2 separate regions of the Homo sapiens genome follow, and region 2 is linked to region 1. Evidence: promoter capture Hi-C in human tissues and cell types (Jung and others, 2019). All regions are on one chromosome and are shown on one strand. Each heading gives the region's core, a stretch centred on a gene start or on the middle of the fragment in contact. The rest is flanking DNA. Distances are from core to core; before and after follow the strand shown. Region 1 holds the start of C1QB (complement C1q B chain). Region 2 overlaps CDC42 (cell division cycle 42).

Region 1 (7,188 bases), core at 4,673-7,172:
ATCTGCATCCATCCATTCATCCATCCATCCATCTATCTCTCTATCCTCCATCCCTGCATCCATCCCTCCATCCCCCTGTCCATCCATCCATCCATCCATCCATCCATCCATCCATCCATCTGTCTCTCTATCCCTCCATCCCTGCATCCATTCATCCACCCATGCATCCCTCTGTCCATCCCTGCATCCATCCATCCATCCTCCTCTCCATCCATCCATCCATCTCTCTACCCCTCCATCCCTGCATCCATCCATCCATCCATCCCTCCATCCTGCTGTCCATCCATCCATCCCTCCATCCTTCCATCCCTGCATCCCTCTGTCCATCTGTCCATCCATCCACCCTCCATCCATCCATCCATCCATCCTTCTGCCCCTGCATCCCTCCATCCCTCTGTCCATCTATCCATCCATCCGTTCATCCATCCATCCCTCTATTCCTCCATCTGTCCCTCCATCCATCCATTCCTCCATCCATATGTTCACTGATTGTCCCCTATCTACCAGACTCTGTGCAAGGTGCTGGGGATTCAGTGAAGAACAAGACGGATACAGTCCCTGCCCTCCTGGACTTGTGCCCCTAGTGGGGACAGATATAAACAGGTAGATATAAATGGGTCAGCATAAAGTAAATAGAAATAGTGATAGACCGTGATTGGTGCTCTGAAAGAAAGAGAAGGATGCTGGGAGGCAGAGTAACTGGGCTGGAGGTGGGAGGTGGTGGGTTTTGTGAGGGAAGTCCTCCCACCAGGAAAGTCTTCTCCAAGGGGAAGCCACTCTTGGAAGTGATGATTAGGCTGAGACCTGAAGGTCCAGAAAAGGTGGGGGCAAGAATGTTCCAGGAGGACAGAGAATATGGAGAAGGCCCAGAGGCAGGACAGAGGTTAGGATGTTGAGGATCAGCAGGAGGCCAGTATGACAGAGGGGAGCAAGAGTTCAAGTGACAGGAAGCAAGAGTGGAGAGGCAACTAAGCTACTATGAGTTTGGGGTTTTATTCCCCGAAAGCTCTTATTCAGTAGAGCTTCTGAATTCAGGGTATGATGCTGCTTATGAACGGGCCACCTTGCATGCTTAGAGCATCCCTGCATCTACTGTGATTCCTACACCAAAGGGGACACTGAGGCTCAGGGAGGCCAAGTCACTTGCTCAGAGTCATACAGGAAGGAATGAAGCCGATGTCCCTGCCAGCATACCAGGCTGTTTCTGCTGGTAGAATATTCTCAGAGCTGTGACTCTGGCAAGAGGGCAGTGATGGCCCCTTTTTAATCCCAAAGAACTAGGAAGAAGCCGGTGGGCTGTCTCAAACTGGTCAGCATGGCCAGTGTTCCATGCCATTAGCTCTCAGGACAAAGTGGCCTTTAAGTTCATCTAGTTTAACCCTCAGCCTATATATTTTTAACTGAGGCAACATTCCTACAACATAAAATTAACCAATTTAAAGCAAGCATTTTAGTGGTATTGAATACATTCACAGTCTTGTGCAACCCTCACTTCCATCTAGTTCCAAGACTTTTCATCACCCCAAAATAAAACTCTATGCCCGTTAAGCAGTTTCTTCTCAATCCTCCTTCCCCCAGCCCCTGACAACCATGAATCTGCTTTCTGTCCCTATGGATTTACCTATTCCTATTATTTCATATAAATGGAATTATACAACGTGTGACCTTTTGTGTCTGACTCATTTCATTTAGGGTAATGTTTTCAAGGTTCATCCATGTTTCTATGTTGTAGCATGTATCAGTACTTCATTCCTTTTTATAACTGAATAATACTCCATTGTATGGGTACATGTGATATTGCAAAGTATATATTTGGTCTTCTACCTCTTTCCTGGCAGACAACTCCTAAAATCCTTAGAATTTCCAAAGTGAGGTATTTTTGTATGCTAATGATTGATTGATGGCTGCCAGCCCCTAGGTAGCTTCAGGATGGGGCTCGTCACCAGGAAGACCAAGGCAGGCTTAGAGGGTCTACTCTCAGCCCCACCCCCCAACCTCTGGGGAGGGGAGTGGGGCTGAAGGTTAAATTGATTACCAATGGTCAATGGCTTAATCAATCGTGCCTACATAATAAAGCCTCCATAAAAATCCCAAAGAACTAGGTTTAGAGAGCTTCCAAATAGCTGAACACGAGGAGGTTCCTCGGGGGCAGCATGCCCAGGGACCTGGGCATGACAGTGGCACGCCTCTTCCCTCATACCTCACCCTGAGCATCTCATCTGTATCCTTTATAGTATTGTTTATAATAAACTTGTAAACGTGTTTCCCCGACTTCTGTGGGCCACTCTAGCAAAGAATCCAAACCCAAGCAGGGGGTTGTGAGAACCCCAACTTGAAGCTGATTGGTCAGAAGTTCTGGGGGCCTGGACTTGCAAATGGTGTCTGAGGGGGAGCAGTCTTGTGGGACTGAGCTCTCAGCCTGTGGGGTCTGATGCTATTCCTAGACAGTGTCAGAACTGAGTGGAAAGACACCCAGCAGATTTGATTGCTTGCTTGGTGTGTGGGGAGAAACCCCCCACATTTGGTCACAGAAGTCTTCTGTGTTGATTGTTGTGGTGTGAGAGCAGAGGAAAATACCGTTTGTGTCTTTCCACTTACAGACCTTCCACTTACACACTACAATTTGGTTTTGGGGTTTTTGGTTTTTTTTGAGATGGGGTCTCACTCTGTTGCCCAGGCTGGTCTCGAACTCTGGAGCTCAAGCCATCCTCCTGCCTCAGCCTCCTGAGTAGCTGGGATTACAGGCACGCACCATCTCGCTTGGCTATTTGTTTATCCACTCATCATTGGTGGACATTTGGGAAGTTTCCACCTTTTGGCTATTGTGAAGAGTGCTGCTATGAACATTTGTGAACAAGGATTTGAGTATCTGTTTTTAATTCTTTGGGGTTTATACCCAGGAGAGGAATTACCGCTTATGGCAATTCCATGTTTAAGTTCCTGAGGACCCTTCAGCCTATTCTTAAGTTTCCTCAATGACACCTCTGCCAAGGTCCCCCGTGTGGTGCCTCAACGCACTCCCCTGCTGCACAAACGTTGTGTTCACTCAGCCCTAAGAACTAATCACAACGCTAGCTGCACATCACATTATTTCCTTGGAAGAGTCAAGCTGAACTTTCTCAGCAGAGTGTGAGGAAATGACATCTCTGCCAAGGGCTCTTCCATCCATAGTTTGCACCGTTTCAGTGATGGGCAGCTCATTACCTCTCGAGGCAGCCCATTCCACCTTTGCCCAGATCCAAATGTTTTTTCTTCATTCGAAGCTTGGGTCAAAGCCTTCTTCCTCCAGGAAACCTTTCCTCAGAGGCTGAACTGTATCCTCTCTTAAAATGGGGGAGCAGAGTGGTCTCTGCCTACTTCCCAGAGTGGCCACAGGGACCCAGGTGAGACCATGGATGGGAAAGAGTCATAAAGCCTTGAGCCCCAAGCTCTCATTGGGACTTGTGGCTGCTACTGCTATTGCTGCTGTTCTCTGATCCTCTCAACACCCTGGGGAAGTGGGTTGTGATTAATTTCCCATCTTGCAGATGAGGAAACTGAGGATCGGAACTTAGAAAGCAACCTACCCAAAAATCACCCAGCAAACTATTCTAACAGCAGGGTTGTGGCCAAACTCCTACCCTCTCTGCCACATGCTGGCTGTCCCAACCCCAGAGTCTGGCATGTGGAGGGCTCCCTGGGACCAGACAAGGCCTACTGATATTTGGCTCCTATGCTCTGCAAACCAGCCTCAGCCCCTCAGCCTAGTCCTGATCAATTTCTTGCTGAAAGCCCTGAGTTATGCCAGACACTGTGCACCAAGGAAAGGAAGCTGTAAAGATGAGTGTGGCCAGGGAATGCTGGTGACAGCTTTAGGTTCTGTCAGGCTCTATGCTCTGAAGACAGGGTGGCTCAGGGGCATGGTCCTGCTTATCCATGAATAAGCATCAGCTCTCACTCTTGCTCTTGCTAAAGGTTTTACAAAATGGCAATTTAACAACTTTAATAAGTTGGGTACGTATAGGCCAGGCTCTGAGCCAGATGGCTTGCATGCCATTATCCCCTGTAATTTGATATTCAGCCCCTGAGAATGCACTCTTGCTTTCTTATTTTACAGATGAGGCAACGGGATCAGAGAGGGCAAGCACCTTGATAAAAGTCACACAGCTCCTGTGTGGCTGGGAGTCAAACCCACATCCACTGGATCTTAAAACTCAATGTTATGTTAAGAGGCCACTGTACCTGGTGGTAAAAACATAAACTTTGAAGCCAGACAGCCTGATAAAAGGACTAATGCATGGGACACACCAAGGGTAGTGGTAGGCACATGGTCAGTGTTCGGTGAAAGTGGCTTTTTACCACCACGATGATTGCTGCTCTTGTTAGGCAGCACACATTCACCTGGTGGCGGGAGCCTGTAGTGTCACAAGGAAAGCAACACTCAGCGTTCACATAAGGTCTCTACTGCTTCTTAGCTAAGGGACTTGGGAAATCACTCCTTCTCTCTGGCCACAGTTTACCCTCCTATAAAGTGGGGATAATGCTACTCTCTCCCTCATAGGGTATGTGCGAGGACATGAGTTACAGCTTCCAACAGAGCCTGGCATGTTGGAAATTCTTAATGAATATTAGCTATTTTATTATTATCACTGTCATCCAAGAATTCCTGAGTGGTTGAACAGAAGGGAAGATGGTTGGAGAAGTAAAAAAAGACAATCCCTTTGAAAGACTGTGTTTAGAGGGAGGGGCTCTGTCAGTTGGAGGCAGCAAGGGGTGGAGAGCTGTGACCAGTTGGTGGGGAGAGAGGGTGGGGAGCAGGGTACTGACAGGACTTGGGCTTCCTGGGGAAGCCAGGGGCAGGGGGAGTGGGAAAGTGCTGGTTCTAGCCCATTTCAAAAGCCACCGAGTTTCAGCCTTGGGTTAGGGCTTACAACTCATCTGGTTTAACTGCCTCCTGCCTGTGCCAGCCCATCATCATTGCCAGCGCGGTTTCTCCTGTCCTCCCCCCAGGCTCTGACCTTTCCATCTCCTTCGGTCCAGCAGTCCCTTTCCGCAACATGGAGTCAGGCCCACTTGACTTTAAAGCCCCATCTGCTACCGGCTGCATAACCTCAGGCAAGTGCCTTAACCTCTCTGAGCCTCTTGGCAATGCTGATTTCAACCTGACAGGGCTGCCAGAAGGATGACAGGAGAAGGCGCTTAGAAGAAATAAGGTCCCCCCTGCCCCGTGCAGTGCCACATCCCACTCCCCAGCTGCACAAACATTGCGCTCACTCAGTACTAGCTGAGAACTCATCGTAACTCTACCTGCACATCCCCTTATTTCTTTGGAAGAGTCAAGCTGAGCTTTCTCAGCGAGTATGAGGAAATAAGCAAGGTGTTGGGGAAATGCTGGGCCGGGCAGGAGCGACTGGCTTATAATCCCACTCCTGCCTCTGGTTTACTGATAAATTTTGAGCCAGGGCATGCACTAAGCTTTTGCAAGCTTGATCTCCTGTAAGGCACAGCAGTGCTGAAAGATTCTGTTCTCTGTAGGGGGGCCGGGCTGAGAGAGGTTAGGTGACTTGCCCAAGATAACCAATACATAAGGTGCAGAGCCAGACTCAGCTCAAGTCTCTGCGATGCCAAAGCTCCTATGTGCCAGGCTCCCGCTTTAGGTGGCCTGCCCATCCGCTAGGCCCTGGGTAGCAGCAGACTCCCCAACTCACCCCAGAGATCTGGGTCCCATAGGTCTGGGATTGGGCCCAGCTACCTGCACTGTTAAACAGCCTAACTGGCTCCGAGGCAGGTGACGCAAAGCTCACACTTACGGAATCACCACTTTCTGCCATATTGGCCCTGCCAGCCTCCCCCAGGCGCCAAGCCCCGTCCTCACCTGGGAAGCTGGTGTCCTGTGAGGCCACTGGGCTGAGCAGCAGTGGGACCAGGAGCCGAGAGCCTACTGCCCTCGGTCCGAAGCGGAAGTTCCCTTCCCCAGAGGCGGGAAGGGCTTTCCCCTGACGGTCCCCTCCCATGGACCAGCAGGCTGGCCCCTTTCCCGTCCCCTCACTGTCCCCCCACCCTGCTGCCCTCAGGCAGTTTCAGGTCCTATTTCTGCAACCCACTGGATTTACTGTAAATGAGACGGGTGGGTGGCAAGTTTGGTTCTGCCAACTCAGCAGCTGTGGGGAGAACACGCTGTCCTGGGGGAACATCCACAGCTCACCCTCCCAGGCTCTCTGACCTCGTGATCTTCTTCTACACTGGGCAGGGGTGTTCCTCAGTGAGCATCATGTGGCGGGCCCGCTGCCTGAGTGCTGGCTTACAGTCAGAGCCTTTGATTCCAATCCCGCCTCTGCCACTTGCCAGTTGATGTGTTGTCAGTCAAGGGAGCCCCAATTTTCTCTGCTATAGGATGGGACCATAATTGTACCTGCTCTACAGATACAGATCTCACAGGCCACTGGGAGGATAATGGAGGAAATGATGGGGGAGGAAGTGTCTGGGGGTAAACTGTAAAGGGCTGTGCACGTGTTCATTGTTAATATCACTTCATGTCCCAGGCTTCCCCTTTCTGGGCTCATCTCTTCTGCTTCCTTCCCATTCTGTGCCCCTGCTCTTTCCCTGTTCTCAGAAAATAATCTCATAATGAATTTTAAATGTGTTCATTATTTATTGATACCCCTCCCTCTGCTTCCAGCAGGGCTGGACGCTGATGACAATAATAGGCCCAGGCAGGGGCCTGTTGCTTCTTCTCGATCCTGGAATCACGCCAAGTTAGGGCCGGAGAGGGGCTGAGGTTACTCGGCCCATCCTCCTCATTTTATATACGAGGAAACTGAGGCCCAGAGGGGAGACCCACCATTTAACAAATATTTAGTGTTTGCTTCCATGTGCACTGAAGAGAGAGCTCTTAGCAAATCAGCCATGGTCCCTGCCCCCATGGGGCCTCCCTTCTACGGGGGGAGACTGGTGTTAAACACGGAATGACATGAGGCTTCATTGCTTCTGTGATAAATGTCACAGAAAGACGTGACTGCTGGGGCCGATGCCTCATGGAGGTGGCAGATGCAGACCTGGAAGCCGGCATCCCTGGCACTAGGATATCAGTCTCTCCCTGTGGCTGCGTCTCAGACGACATGATGACTAGCAAGCACCAGGAGCTGGAGGCCCTCTTGACATCTGTGCTTGGAGATGGAAATTCACTGGGCTTGTGGATGCAGCTTGGTG
Region 2 (7,107 bases), core at 4,578-7,077, 570 kb after region 1:
GACCAAGTTCCCTTTTGCAATAGTAATCCAAACCAAAAAGCTCTGAGCATCAGGCAACTCAAGCAGCAGAACGTTAAAACAAGTCCAACTTGACTACTGATCACAAAAAATTTATATGATATTGCATTCTTGATCAAAAACTAATACAGAGGTTGCTCTAAGGTGGTGAGTAAAAAGACGCAGAGGCTTTCAAACAGGATGGTTTTATTCCTTTGTTTTTAAACGATCTTTCTACAGTAGTGGGACAGGAAGCAGCAGCAAAGAAGGGAAGGAGAAAACAGTTTAGAATATACAGCACTTCCTTTTGGGTTGAGTTTCCGGAGGCTCGAGGGCAGCTAGGATAGCCTCATCAAACACATTCTTCAGACCTCTCTACAAGACAGAGGGGAGGAGAGAGAATAGCAGCCAGGTTAGAGGATTAGAAAGACTAGCAGGTACAACAGCAGTCCGGATTAAATGAGCTGAATTCACAGAAGCAATGTGCCTTAAGAAAAACGCTAGAATGCTAGATCTTAAGCCCATTATAACCAGGAGAGTAGATAACTGACCAAAAACTTCACCTCAAGCAAGGTTAACTGAGCAGGAAAGCAATTTTTATTAAAATGCAATATGTTGACTTCTAACACATTTTGGAAATAAATCTATTACAATTTCAGGCTTATGTGAATTCAGCCCCTGAATAACTGAAGGACACAAATAGCAGACTAACAGGCATGCTATGTGTTTCTAGGTTCAATGACATATCTGAATGTGATTAATCAAGATTTCAGAGTAAACTGGTTTCCCAGAACGGAAAGGTTCAGACATTTAAAAAGTGTTAATTGTGCAACAGTACCAACTAGAAGGACTTTAAAGAACAGACTCTAAAAACAGCATACACTTCAGTTATTCAGCAATGTTATTAGAGCAAGTAACCACCACCCAAGTCATAAGAAAACAAAGAATGGGGTCCTAGAATGAGTTTTAGCAAGCAGTCCAGTGCTTTAAGATGTCTGCATGGGTATCAGAGCATAAAGCATGGAGTGAAAACGAAGAATATTCTCAGATCTTACGGGGATTAAGATACAGAAATACACTTACACCTCAGCCAGAAACTCCAACATGACAGTGTGACTCAGCATTGGTGGTACTTAGGACCCAGGTCTACAGACTCACCTAAAATCACCTAAATCTGAAGCCACAAGTTTACCACCCAAGGTTGTTTCACATGTTCTTTAGTTTGATCAGTTTGATCCCAAGTAAATATGTCCTAAAAGTCCCAGAACACAGCTCCAATTGTAAGTGCCAACCCCAGACCACCCCAAGTGTTCCCACCTCCACCCTGCCCCCATCCATGACATCCCACAGGACTGGTACCCACATGTCACATTAGACACAAAATAAATCAGAAACAGCAGTAAATTCTTTAAAAGCAGCAAAAGTTAAAAAGCCTTCCTCTTTCTACATCATTTACAAAGTAGAAATGCCACATAAAAGTTAAAATTCCACTGCAATTCTTTCTGCACATCTAGGAACCAACTCTGGCAGTAAAATATAAAAGGAAGGAAGGAGTACAGAAAGGGAAATATACTTTATAAGGAAAAAAAGAGGAGGAGGACTATTAGAAACTGGAGTGTATCCCTTAACAAGAAGGAATTCCTTTCTTGCTTACCATGGACGAAGATCAACAAATGCTCTATGAAACAAAACTAATCTTTGCTTGACCACCATCTGTTTATATTAAGACTTTAGTTTTAGAGGAATCAACAAACAGAATCTGTAAGCCTCAAAGTTCTAGCTCCCAAACACAACCACAGACCCCATTTTCTAACTTCCCCTCTTTTGACTTCTCCATACTTCAAACTCTGGTAAGAAAAATGTACCTGCTAAGACCTTTTAAACTTCATACTCTCTACAAACGGATTTACTATATACACCTGTTGATACTGTAAAAATCTTACATTAAAAGCATCCAATTATCTAAAGCATCACTAGTAACCTAAAAGTGAATCCACAGGGCCTATGTGTCTTCCCTCAAAGCAACCCATATCTAGAGAACAGAGGTATGCATCAGAAGCACACAGAATTAGTGTCTAACATGGACATGAGTGTTTCACACATGACTTTCCCTTGTCTCCCCCAATATACACACACAGGCACACTTTTCTGGGAATGTTACTAAAACACACAGAGAAGCACCAGGCATTTTTTAAAACTCTCAAAACAGTTGCTATGCATGAGAAGGTGTAAAATCTTCTAAACTTTTAAATAACTGCTTCTATAATAGCACTAAACTGCCCAAAAAAACGAGGATTAGAAGATTATGTTTAAATCATCTGATACTAGGCCTCGAAGTTATTTTGAGGGATATCCCAGTTAAGCATAAAAGTTTTATCTGTAAATATCCAACCAAGTACTAAACTTACTATTAAATTATGCACTAGGCCCTATAAACTAAATACCTAGTGCATATGTAATAAGTAATCATATATGCCATTTACCCTAGTATACACGTAGTTAAGAATCCAATAGTGTTTTTTAGAAACACAATAAAAATGAATGAATTACCTGAAAACATAAGCATAAATATAATGAGTTTAATATAATTATTAGAAACCTCCACCCTTCAATCTTGCCCTATTAGGCATGTCTGCTCAGTGTTCAAACTTCAAAGCACCAGTACCAGTAGAACATAAAACTTTTGTGCTAATTATTTCCATAACCTTTTCCTTTGCCCCCAGAACAGTACTCAAAGGACGGAATCAGCGATATCATGAAGGTGAAAAAGTTTAAACCATACACATCAGTTACAAGTCCCATTCCAAATACCCTAACATTGCTCCCTATCTTCAAAATCTGAGTTTCCCATCAAACTACAAAAGGAGTTCCAATTAAATCACTCAAAAACGGCCGGAATGCATGAGGAAGGAATACTTCCAAAAATATAGGAATAGGGACACTATATAAAGCACGCTTGAGAACTGTGGCAGAAATAGCCATGGCTGCCTTCTTTGACATTAAAGTCTCAATTATTATGACTAATTCCCTATCCTGGTTGAATTGCCCAAGAAACAGTATAGTATCAATTGTCAGAATTGGCAAGAAAAGATCAGACATATTCAGATGAAAATTTAAGTGTTTAGAAAAAAAAAAAATCATTCACATCGTCTCTTGCAAGTTTATGCTTATCTGAACCTTTCCTGTAAGGTTTTTGTTTTAACACAACCCTGACCACTACGAATCATTCAGTACAATACGAGAGCTTACCAACACAAGGGGTTTAGGAACTAATAATATTCTCCAAAAAACACAGAGGCCTCTAACAAAAGAACATACAATATGAAGCTGTTCATATTCTTGCTGGGCATCTTTGAGCACTGCTGATCACTGTTAGAAATAACTCCTGTATCCTAATGCTCTAATAAATGACTCGACCATAAATACACATGGGGTTTCATGCCATTCTTACCTGTGTAAGTGCAGAACACTCCACATACTTGACAGCCTTCAGGTCACGGGCCAGCTTTTCAGCAGTCTCTGGAGTGATAGGCTTCTGTTTGTTCTTGGCAAGTTTCTCAATAGTAGAGGGGTCATCTCTGAGATCAATTTGAGTCCCAACAAGCAAGAAAGGAGTCTTTGGACAGTGGTGAGTTATCTCAGGCACCCACTAAAAAAAGGTATTTTAAAATACACCTTTGTTAATCAACAAGCCTCTAATGCTATTTATAACAGGTCAGTAGAAATTCTGAGATGATCTTCTTAGGGCAAGAGTATCTGATCAGCTTACCTTTTCTTTCACGTTTTCAAATGAAGATGGAGAGACCACTGAAAAACAGACTAGAAATACATCTGTTTGTGGATAACTCAGCGGTCGTAATCTGTCATAATCCTCTTGCCCTAGAAAAAAGAAAAATATTGGAGAGAATTCAGCAACTGAATCTTGGTGTCCTCAAAGTGTTAAAAGCATGCTGGTCATTACTCAAAAAGCAACTTACTTATCTAATAAAATGTATGGCTTTGTAATATAATATGTGGGCAATATTCTCAATCAGCTAATTCTACAAACTTCAAGCACTCAGAACAGCAATGAATTTACTATTATGTTATTTGCTTTTATTACCAGTTTGTGGTGTTCAATCTTTGTGTCCATTAGAAACCCAATAATAAATGTAATAATAAACTCTTGCTACAGAAATGGTTAAAAATCAATCCTTGTAATCCCAGCACTTTGGGAGGCCGAGACAGGCGGATCACCTGAGGTCAGGAGTTCAAGACCAGCCTGGCCAACATGATGAAGCCTCATCTCTACTAAAAATATAAAAATTAGCCGGGTGTGGTGGTGCACATCTGTAATCCCAGCTACTTGGAAGGCTGAGGCAGAAGAATCACGTGAACCCAGAAGGCGGAGGTTGCAGTGAGCCGAGATGGCATCACTGTACTCCAGTCTGGGTGACAGAGTGAGACTCCATCTCAGATATGGTAAAGAAACAATCACAGTGAAATCATCTAAGGAAAGAAAAACCTCACTGAAACCCAGATGACAAAATCCACTGCCCATCATGACTACAAACAGAGGTTCACATATTTAGTTAATGCGTGTATATAAGACCGGTATCTGAAACTGATAAAGCCTAGAAAACAAATTTAGCAAGAATTAATCGATACTCAAAATAATAAAAATACTTAGAATTAACTTAATCAGAGGCAAAAGACTTGGATAACAAAAAAATTCAAAACTGCTGAAAGAAATTAAAGAAGACATAAATAAATGGAAACACATCCCACATTCATGAACTGGAAGACTTAATATTGTTGACATGTCAACATTATCCAAAGCAACCTACAGACTCAATGCAATCCCTATCAAAATCCCAACAAGGGATAGTAATCTTGAAACAAGGGACAATAGACAAAATAATCTTGAAAAAGAATAAAGCTGAAGCACTCCCATTTCCTGATTTCAAAACTTACTACAAGGCTACAATAATCAAAACAGTGCGGTATTGGCATAGGGAGATATATAAGACAATGGAATAGACTAGAGAACCCAGAAATAAACCCTTACATATGTGGGCAAATGATTTTTCTTTTTTTTTTTTTTTTTTAGACAGAGTCTCACTCTATCACCCAGGCTGGAGTGCAGTGGCACAATCTCGGCTCACTGCAACCTCCACCTCCCCAGTTCAAGAGACTCTCCTGCCTCCACCTTCTGAGTAGCTGGGACTATAGGCACACACCACCGCACCAGGCTAATTTTTGTATTTTTAGTAGACACAGGGTTTCACCATGTTGGCCAGGCTGGTCTTAAACTTCTGACCTCAGGTGATCTGCCCACCTCAGCCTCCCAAAGTGCTAAGATTACAGGTGTGAGCCACCGTGCCTAGCCTAGCTCAAATAATTTTTGATAAGGGTGCCAAGACCATTCAGTGGTAAAAGGACTCTTCAATAAATGGTGCTGAGAAAATGACATATTCACAAGCAAAAGACAAAGATGAAACCTTACCTAATACTATATACTAAAATTAACTCAAAATGGATAAAAGGTCTAAATGTTAGACCTAAAACTTTAAAACTCCCAGAAAACATAGGGCAAAAGATTCAGGTGGACTTGGCAATAATTTGTTTGGATATCACACCAAACCACCAAAAAATAGACAAACTTCATGAAGCTGTGAAAATTTTATACATCAGAAAATAGTATCAACAGAATAAAAACGCAACCCACAAAATAGGAAAAAATATATGCAAATCGTGTATGTGATAAGAGATTAATACCCGGAATCTACAAAGAACTCCTAAAACTTACCCCAAAAAAAAAATCCCAATTCAAAAATGGGCAAAGAACTTGATTAAACAGACCTTTCTCCAAAGATATATAAATGGCCATAAGATGCTCAACATCACTAATCATTAAGGAAATACAAATCAAAACCACAATTAGATACCACCTCACACTAATTAGGATGGCTACAATTAAAAAAAAAAAAAAAAAAAAAAAAACAGGAAATAAGTGTCGAACAGAAGAATGTGACTATATCAAACCCCACGTACTGTTGGTAGGAATATAAAATGGGACAGCCACTGTGGAAAACAATACGGAGGTTCCTCAAAAAAATTAAAAACATGATCCAACAATTCCACTTCTGGGTATATACCCCAAAAGAACTGAAAGCAGGGTGTCAACAAGGTATCTGTATACCCATGTTGATAGCAACATTATTCAAAATAGCTAAAACGTGGAAGCAATTCATAGCACCAGTATTAAAACTGGAACCCAAACATCCATCAACTTGTTAATGGATAAACAAAACTGTGATATATTCATAGAACAGAATAACACTCGGCAATCAAAAGAAACAACTACCAATACACACAACATGGACAACTCTCACAAACATTATGCTATGTAAAAATAGTCACACAAAAGACTACATATTGTATGGTTCCATTTATATGAAACCCTAGAAAAGCAAAACAGTAGAAACAAAGAAAGCAGATCAGTGGTTGCCTGGAACCAGGTCAAGGGACAGGGCTGACTGCAAAGGGAACCCAGAAATAAACACTCACATATATGGTCAAATAATTTTTGATAAGGGTGCCAACACCATTCAGTGGTAAAAGAACTCACCACAGAAAATTTGAGGGGTGATAAAAATGTTACACATTTTATTATGGTGGAGGGTCAGCAAAATGCATCACACTGAACACTTAAAACGATTTTTTTTTTTTTAAAGACGGAGTCTCACTCTGTCAGCCAGGCTGGAGGGCAGTGGCAGAATCTCGGCTCACTGCAACCTCCGCCCCCTGGGTTCAAGCAATTTTCCTGTCTCAGCCTCCCAAGTAGCTGGGACTTAACAGGCATACACCACTACACTGGGCTAATTTTTGTATTTTTAGTAGAGATGGGGTTTCACCATACTGGCCAGGCTGGTCTCAAACTCCTGACCTCAGGTGAACTGCCTGTCTCAGCCTCCCAAAGTGCTGCAATTACAGGCGTGAGCCACCGCGCCTGGCCTTAAAATGATTTTTATTGCACTACGCATCAAAAAAGCTTTCAAAAGTACTCGCCAGAAAATGTAAAGGCTTATAAATAATAAACTTTGAAATCTGAAAATACTAATTTTCAAC

The links. Contacts are between HindIII fragments. The study calls those that stand out against the background at their distance.
Region 2: a fragment that was not itself captured here is called in contact with the fragment with the promoter of C1QB in region 1 in 1 of the 25 tissues and cell types used here (ovary).

Annotation. Positions count from the first base shown.
Region 1 is chr1:22,651,970-22,659,157 of GRCh38, reverse strand. C1QB (complement C1q B chain) reads right to left here and starts at 5,922. Exons shown (of 3, transcript NM_001378156.1): 1 at 5,855-5,922. The HindIII fragment of the contact is 7,433 bases long and covers 4,360-7,188 here.
Region 2 is chr1:22,083,208-22,090,314 of GRCh38, reverse strand. CDC42 (cell division cycle 42) reads right to left here. Exons shown (of 6, transcript NM_001791.4): 4 at 3,767-3,876; 5 at 3,449-3,646. Among named protein-coding and RNA genes, the nearest start is that of CDC42, 34 kb to the right of the region's middle. RefSeq lists a silencer at 205-499 and an enhancer at 1,035-1,104. The HindIII fragment of the contact is 5,128 bases long and covers 3,264-7,107 here.